2 separate regions of the Homo sapiens genome follow, and region 1 is linked to region 2. Evidence: promoter capture Hi-C in human tissues and cell types (Jung and others, 2019). All regions are on one chromosome and are shown on one strand. The core of a region is centred on a gene start or on the middle of the fragment in contact, and the rest is flanking DNA. Distances in the headings are between cores, read along the strand shown.

Evidence for each region. Contacts are between HindIII fragments. The study calls those that stand out against the background at their distance.
Region 1: a fragment that was not itself captured here is called in contact with the fragment with the promoter of GPIHBP1 in region 2 in 3 of the 25 tissues and cell types used here (H1 embryonic stem cells, lymphoblastoid cells and mesendoderm cells).

What each region holds. Positions count from the first base shown.
Region 1 is chr8:143,108,073-143,112,352 of GRCh38, reverse strand. No RefSeq gene overlaps it. Among named protein-coding and RNA genes, the nearest start is that of LY6L, 30 kb to the right of the region's middle. The HindIII fragment of the contact is 5,687 bases long and covers 1-4,280 here.
Region 2 is chr8:143,211,740-143,215,595 of GRCh38, reverse strand. GPIHBP1 (glycosylphosphatidylinositol anchored high density lipoprotein binding protein 1) reads right to left here and starts at 2,378. Exons shown (of 4, transcript NM_178172.6): 1 at 2,277-2,378; 2 at 1,646-1,774; 3 at 470-583; 4 at 1-337. The coding sequence starts at 2,328. The coding sequence ends at 78. The HindIII fragment of the contact is 48,923 bases long and covers 1-3,856 here.

The sequences.
Region 1 (4,280 bases), core at 944-3,443, 100 kb after region 2:
GACTGGTTCCTGCCACCCGACACCTCCTCATCACCTGCCTCTTCTGCATTCCAAACCCTCTCTTTAAAATCCCCTGCGTTCCCTCCACAAATGGAAGAGTGGAATTGCTTTGTGCTCATCCCTTTGCTGGTACGGATAATAAAGTCTCACTCTCTTTCTATCACACCTCATTATTATTTTGGCTTCTTTCTACAAGTGGTGAGCAGCCTCACCCTTCTGCTGGTCACAAGTGCAGCAGAATGGAAGAGCACGTGTGGGCTGATGTGAGACCCACAGCTCACTGCTGAACAATGGCAGATGAGTGTGTGTGATCCAGACGCACAGATTATTCCTGAGGGAACGGCCAGCCTGGTGGGCTGGATAAAAGGCACTGTAAGAGAAGGGGACCACCCAACTTTCCCCATAAACGCCAAGTGGAGCACCCCCGATGAAGCAGCTGATGTGCTTCGTAAGCAAGCCATGTGGGACTGACTTTATGATGACCGGGATATTCACGGCTGAGTATGCCCAGATCATGGTAAATGCTGTGGTTAAGGGGGCCCATTGGCCTGGGCACCTCATTGGGTCTCAACTTCCCCTCATGGGTCATCCAGATGCTTATAAAAACTTTAGGCTAATTAATAAAATTATTGGGAAAGGCAAAAGGGAGTCCAAGGACTCATCCTAGGAAGGGGAAAATTTTTAAACGATTAGTTTTAAATAGGTAAAAAATGGGCCAGGCCTGGTGGCTCACGCCTGTAATCTCAGCACTTTGAGGGGCAGAGGTGGGCAGACCACCTGAGATCAGGAGTTCGAGACTGGCCTGGCCAACATGGCGAAACCTCATCTCTACTAAAAATACAAAAATTAGCCAGGTGTGGTGGCGCGCACCTGTAATCCCAGCTACTCAGGAGACTGAGGGAGGAGAATTGCAGTGAGTCAAGACTGCCACTGCACTCCAGCCTGGGTGGCAGAGTAAGACTCCATCTCAAAAAAAAGGTAAAAAGTGGATGGGGTGAAACCAAGAGGAAAAAGGAAAGGAGAGAGTCATGGGGTGCATCCTAGCGGGGTGGAATCTGTACATGGTTGTTAAGCAATGGAATGAATAATGGGGGGTTATTCACAAAGGTCTTAATACAACACTATCGAAAGTTGGGTGAACAAAGGGAGCCCCCGCTGGTCCCTCAACAGTAAAGAGCTCCAAAACAGTTTTTGCCAGATTGGAGAAGGCACTCTAACTATAAAAATTGGAAGGCAAAAGTTACACTGAGCAAACTGACCAACAATTGCGGGGGCCAATGTTGAGGTGGGTTAATCAAGATAAGATTGACAGAAGGGCCAGGGTCCCTTGGATCAAGCCCCTGTGGGGCACCCACATCCTTTTTCACAAGAGAGGGTAAAATGGTCTGGAGGTGGGAAAAAGAAGTTCCTGGGAGCAGAACAGAAAGACGTCGAGTTATGAAAGTCGACTTGTGTGATAGAGTTATGAAAGCCGAGATGTTTAAACAGGCTTTATGTAAGGCATTACATATCCTTTACCTAAATGCTTTATGAAAATGGATATTGAAGCTGGTACAGTGGTTCACACCTGTAATCCTAGCACTTTGGGAGGCCGAGGTGGGCGGATCACTTGGGGTTAGGAGTTCAAGACCACCCTGACCAACATGATGAAACCCCATCTATACTAAAAATACAAAAATTAGCCGGGCATGGTGGCATGCACCTGTAGTCCCAGCTATTGGGGAGGCTGAGGCAGGAGAATTGCTTGAACCCAAGAGGCAGAGGCTGCAGTGAGCCGAGATTGTGCCATTGCACTCCAGCCTGGGCAATAGAGACTCAGGAAAAAAAAAAAAAAGGAAAATGGAAAATGGATATTGTACGTGGACTGGGGAAACCCCTACCTACTACTGCAAAAGTAAAGGCATGAAAAAATCAACGAAAAGAGTCAAACTGTAAAATATTGGAAGAGATTTATTCTGAGCCAAATATGAGAGACTGTGGCCCATGACACGGCCTCAGGAGACCGTGAGAACAAGTGCCCAAGGTGTTTGGGCCACAACTTGGTTTTATAAATTTTAGGGAGCCATGAGACACCAATCAATACAGGGAAGACATACATTTGTTCGATCAGGAAAGGTGGGACAACTTGAAACAGGGACTTCCAGGTCATAGGTAGATTCAAAGATTTACTGATTGGCAATTGGTTGAAGGAGTTACTATCTAAAGACCTGGAATCAAAAGAAGGAATGTCTGGGTTAATGAGGGATTGTGGTGACCAAGTTCCTATTACACAGAGAAAGCCTCCAGGTAGCTTCAGAGAGAACAGATTGTAAATGTTTCTTACCAGAGTTGATTCTCTCTTGAATCAGGGAAAAGTCCTGAAAAAGGAAAAGGATTCTCTTCAGAATGCAGCTTTTCCCCACAAGAGAAAGCTTTGCAAGGCTATTTCAAGACATGGCAAAGAAACACAATTTGCGGTAAAATACTTCAATTTCATTCAGTGAATCCTTCGCTTGGCTTCCTACCCTTGAGGCTTTTAATAAGTTGAGTCCAAAATTCCCTAAAAAAGTTCCAGCAAAGCCAACTTAAAAAGAGCCGACCAGCTTAGGCAACATGCTGAGACCCTGTCTCTACAAAACATAAAAAATGAGCTGGGTGTGGTGGGGTGTGCCAAGGGTCCCAGCTACTCGGGAGGCTGAGGCAGGAGGAGTGTTTGAGCCTGAGAGGCTGAGGCTGCAGTGAGCTCTGATTGCACCATTGTACTCCAGCATGGCTGACAGAGCAAGCCCCTGTCACAGGGAAAAAAAAAAAAAAAAAAAGCCTCTAGGGCTGGTAACTATTCTTGCCACGCTTCATGCAAATAGGCCAAGTATAATGAGACCGAAATTTATTTTGCAAATAAACTGGTCCTACTATGATTTATCCTTGGTAGAAATGGGGAAACTAGAGAGAGAAAAATTTAGATCCTAGCTCTGACCGTTGTTTTTGAGTTATTATTTGCTTACAATTTGGGCTAATCCTGAATCATTCACTGGCTACAAGTCTCTAAAGAAAAACCGGGTTTTAGTTTCCTTCACGATGCTTTTAGTCGGCTTCTTAATGAAATAGGTTCTTTTTTGTTACTGTTCTGAAATACAAATTCCCTTTTGATTGTCATCCTTGTGTGCAAATTATTAATGTTATGTATCTCTTGTTGTTTTATTTTCTCTGAGAAAACAGAAGTCGTGGTATCCTGAAGACTAGAGATGATTCAACAGCCGGTGACCCTCCCTCACTGGGACTCTCACCGGGCCCGACCTGTTTTCCGACGCCAAGGCACCGCTGCTGAAGCCAGACAACCCCAAGCACCCTCCCTAAGGCTCAGGGACCATCGCGGAAGAGGAGGGCAGGTGAGACGGTCAGAGCTGGATTAGTGGGGCGGCGCGGGCGGATCATGGAGGCCGAAGCCGCTCCATCTTGGACGCTAGTTTGTCGTGTTGGCTTCTGATTAACCTCAGTTCCGGGAATGCCTCTGAGAGTTCCCGTTCATCTGTTGTTCCTTGTGTAAGAGCACATCCTTATCACAAGTCCTGGCCTTAGGGAAATTCCTGCCCACCCCCTCTGAGGCATGTCCCCTGCACTATGGCAATAGAAGCCCTGGGCCTGGGTGGTGACGGCGCAGGGAGCCGCCATCTTGACTCACCGTAGCCTGAGACTGACATGGCTTCTGTTTCTAAGTCCCTATTAAATGTTTCTTTTTAAGAACTGAATTTGTGGGCCAGGCGCGGTGGCTCACGCCTGTAATCTCAGCACTTTGGGAGACCGAGGTGGGCATTTCACGAGGTCAGGAGATCGAGACCATCCTGGCTAACCCGGTGAAACCCCGTCTCTACTAAAAATACAAAAAATTAGCCGGGCGTGGTGGCGGGCGCCTGTAGTTCCAGCTACTCGGGAGGCTGAGGCAGGAGAATGGCGTGAACCCGGGAAGCGGAGCTTGCAGTGAGCCGAGATGGCGCCACTGCACTCCAGCCTGGGCGACAGAGCAAGACTCTGCCTCAAAAGAAAAAAAAAAAAAAAGATGTGAATTTGTCAGCCTCTTTCTTTGGCCTGTCAGCTTCCTTGGACTTTGAGGTAGATGTGTTTGGACTTGTTCACTGTGAGACAGTGGCTGAATAGTGTTCTTCTGTATACACTTAAACATTCTGTTTATCCGTCATTTGTTGAGGGATATTTGGGTTGCTTCTACCATTTGGTACTTGTGAATATTGCTGCATATATTAGGCTGTTCTTTTGTTGCTGTAAAGAAATACCTGAGACTGGTA
Region 2 (3,856 bases), core at 1,129-3,628:
GGCAGGAGGGGAAGGTACCAGACAGAGTGCTGGCAGGGCCGGGGGTGAGCCGGGTGGGGGTGGGGAGGGGCCGTGGGTCAGGGTCTCCTGGCCCCCATTGCTCCAAGGCCGGCAAGGAGGTTGAGCAGGAGGGCTGCGCCCACAGTTTCGGAGCTGCCCCGGGGGCCGCCTGCCCCCTTGCCTGTTGGGTCCTGGACTCGGGAGCTTTGCCAGGGTGGGACATTGCACAGGCTGGACTGGCAGCAGGTCATGGTCACCTGGGTCCCCTCCACCGTCTTGGTGATGGGCTGGCAGCTGTCTGTGCACCACGTGGAGTGGGTGGTCAGGAGGCCTGACTCTGGGAAGGGGAGTGGGGAACAAGTGCTGAGGATGGGCGGGGTCTCTGAGGTGGCTCTGCAGGGCTCTGTTCCGGGCCCCTGGCTTTCCCGCCGCCTGGGGGTGCATGTGCTGCGGCCCCACGCCCACTTACCGGTGTTCCCGTGGGCAATGAGGGTTGTGCAGGTCTGGCCATGTGAGCAGTTCTGCGTCAGGTTGCAGCGCTCGTCCCTGGGCAGGGACTTGCAGGTGTAGCACCGCAGCAGCACTGGGGACAAGGCGGGCTCAGGCCGAGGCCGGGCCCCCCAGGGTCTCCTCCCACGTCCCTGTCCACCTCCCCGTTCTCAGCTGTGCTCCCAAAGCCTAGCCTGGTGAGCCTCCAGCACCCACTGCTCAGATGGGCGGGCGACCCCTGACTTGGTCCTGTAAGCTGTGCTGTGTGCGTGAGCCTGTGTGTTTAGGGGGCAAGGGATTGCGGGTCAGGCAGGGCGAACTTCCCATCATCACTCACGTCCTGCGACAATGCTGCCCAGGCTCCTGCCGTGGTCACAGAAACCTGGAGGTGGGTCTGACTCAGTCCTGCCTCCAGGAGCACCAGGCCTGGCAGAGGAGGGCCTCACAGGGGACACCTCGTGGGTGTGTGGGGCAGGGCTCGTGCTGAGGGCAGGCTTGGGGCTCCTGGGAGGGGGGTGGGCTGTGTGTGGTGGGGCATGCTGGGGGCCCTGGCTAGGGAGGGGCTGTGTGTGGTGGGGCACGCTGTGGTCCCTGGCTAGGGAGGGGCCGGCCCTCGGGTTGGATGCGGCGATTTGCTCTGCTTTTCTCGGGATGGGAGAGAGCAGAGGGTGGCCCACGTGTAGGGGTGTGTCAGGTGGGCAGTGAGGGTGGGCTCTTCTTAGCCCTACTCTGCTCTGCTCTAAGCGGTTCCCTGGCTCCCCAGCCCGCAGCAGCCAATCCAGCCCTCCCCTGTACAGGACCGGCCCACCCTGCTGCTCTCTCTGCCCCACAAAACTGAACCCTACCCTGGGGCCTCTGTGCTTGTGTCTCCACCCTAGGCCCCCACTGAGCCCTTCTCTGCCTGGTGAACTCCTATTTAACCTCTACATCCTGGCACCACTGACCCTCCCAGCTGGTGGCTTCTTCCCCTGTTCCCTACTCTGGAAGGCAACTGAGTGTCATGGTGAGCAGCAGTGAGGGGTGTACTGAGTGTCCCCCACTCTGCTGGAGGCAAGCTCACAGCAGGACTGTGGCCTGCTGGCTTCCATCACACAGCCCCGCCCAGAATGCTCCAGGCAGATCAGGCAGCAGGGCTCTGGGGTTGGGGCGGCCATACCTCTGCTCCTGCCACCAGGGAGCCTGTTGGTCTCCTCCTCTTCCACCTCATCCTCATCTTCCTCGTCGTAGTCATCTGGCCCGTGGTCCTCGTCCTCTTCCTCTTCCTCCTGCTGTGTCTGCCCTCTCCCTGGCCGTGCAGGGATGCTTGTAAGCCTCAGCTACCCGGGTATGGAGGACACCTGCTCTGGGCAAGCATCGTGCCCCCAACTCCTTGGCCCTCCCCAGCCATCCTCGGGCCCCAGGGTGGCTGGGGAGGGCCCCTACCCTGAACACCCTACTCACCCTACTCACTGTCCTGCAGCCTACTCACCCTACTCACTGTCCTACTACCCTACTCACCCTACTCACTGTCCTGCAGCCGAGTGTGCCCTGGCATTGTAGTTACAACAGCAGCTGCTGTGGGCTGGCCCTTTATGGTAGCCCCTCCCCGCACCCCACATAAACAGGGGCGCAGATATTTGGGGACTCTCGGGGACCCAGGCCAGCTTCCATCCATGCTGCTCTGGGCTGGGGACTCCAGCCTCATCCCCTCCTTCTTCCTAAGCCCCTGCTGGGGGTCCCTGGAGGTCCCTGTGCTCCAGGACTGCTGTTGCTGCCCCCTCACCGCAGGGTTACCCTTTGCCCCGCACCTGGCCGCCCGAACAGCAAGAGGGCAAGCAGGACAGCCCCGAGCGCCTTCATCTCGCCGGACGCTGCTGTGTCCCTGACTCTGAGTCCTCCCGCAGGGCTCTGGAGCTGCGGTAAGTGGGATGAAGGGCATTGCCGTGGGCTTCCTAGTGGCCCCCACCAGCTCCAGCCTCAAACAATGGGCCTCACACTGGTCCCCAGCTCCAGGCGCCAGGCCAGGGACTGTTGTTTCCCTCCAGGACATCTGGGGCCAGAGGGGAAGGAGAAGTCATTGTGGTTGGCCTTGGAACGTCCTGTGCACCCGTGCCACGGCAGGTGGAAGGTGGTGCTGGCCCTCGCCTGGCTTGCCGCTCAGTGCCTCAGCCCTGCAGTGCAGGGCAGGGAGCCTCGCCCCGGAATGGGCCATGCCTGACACCCCTCAACCCCATGTCTGGGCTCCATAGTCACAGGACCTTGGGGTCACAGACCCTCTATTTGCTGGTCACTGGCCAAGCATCGTCATCCTAGAGTCAGCATCACACCCAGGCCCCTTTAAGAGCATTTAAGTAAAAACACAGTCAATGCCCTCAAGCTAAGGCTGCGTGCTCACCTCCTCCTCACCCACACTCAGCAATGCACTGCTAGGCCCAAGGCCTCCCGGCTGCCCCTCACTATCACCTCGGGTCTTTGCCCCTGCTGCTCCATCTGCAGTGCTGTTCCTGCTGGTGTCCGGTGGAGAGCTTTCTGGAGCTCTTGGGGGCCCGCCCCCTCGGTCTCTTGCTGGGAAAGCCATCAGCACCCACCTGCCTTCTGGCCTTGTGTGAGAGACGGGCTGCTCTGGGAGAGGCTTGGAAAGCCCAGGTCGCTCCCTGAGGCCACCCCCTCCTCTCAAGACCCCACCCAAGCCCTTGGGGGGTGCTGATGCAGAGTGCAGAGTCGAGGCTCTGAGCTGCCCCTCTCCCAAGGGCAGCAGAGGGGTGGGGCAGCGGCAGGGGCTGGACGTCCGGAGCCAGGGTCAAGCCTGAGCGTCTCTGTGTGCCTTGGTGCTTGGGCCAGGCACTTCACCTACTGAGGCCTCAGTTTCCCCGACTGTCAATGGGTGGGGTGGGGCATTTTCTGGCCGGCCACCTGTAACAGAGGTTGAGTTGGTTCTGGAGTGAGCTACCTGGGTTTAAGACCCGGTTCCTCCTTCCCCCGGCTGTGGGTTCTGGACTAGCCCCTTGGGTTCCCCAGGCCTCAGCTCCCTCATAGGGTGAGGTGACCATCAAGGGTCAGTACCTGCTGGGCTTAGGACAGCGCCTGAGGCTGGGAATACCTGTCTCTAATGTCCCAGCCACCGAGTCAACCATCCTTCCTTAATTCACCTGAACCTGTCATTCTTTCCACTCTACCGGCACCCACCCAGCATCTAGCCCTTCCCCAGCCAAGGCTGCAAGGTCACTTGCCAAGCCAGGGTCTCCCATAGTGGTGCCCACGCCACAGCCGGACACGCCCCGCCAGCCCCAAACTCTTCATACCTGATGCCTGTCCCCCCCAGCCCCGTCCCGCCCCGCCCCGCCCCGCCCTTCCCTGCCCCTCCGCGCGTGGCCCCACCCCCACCCGC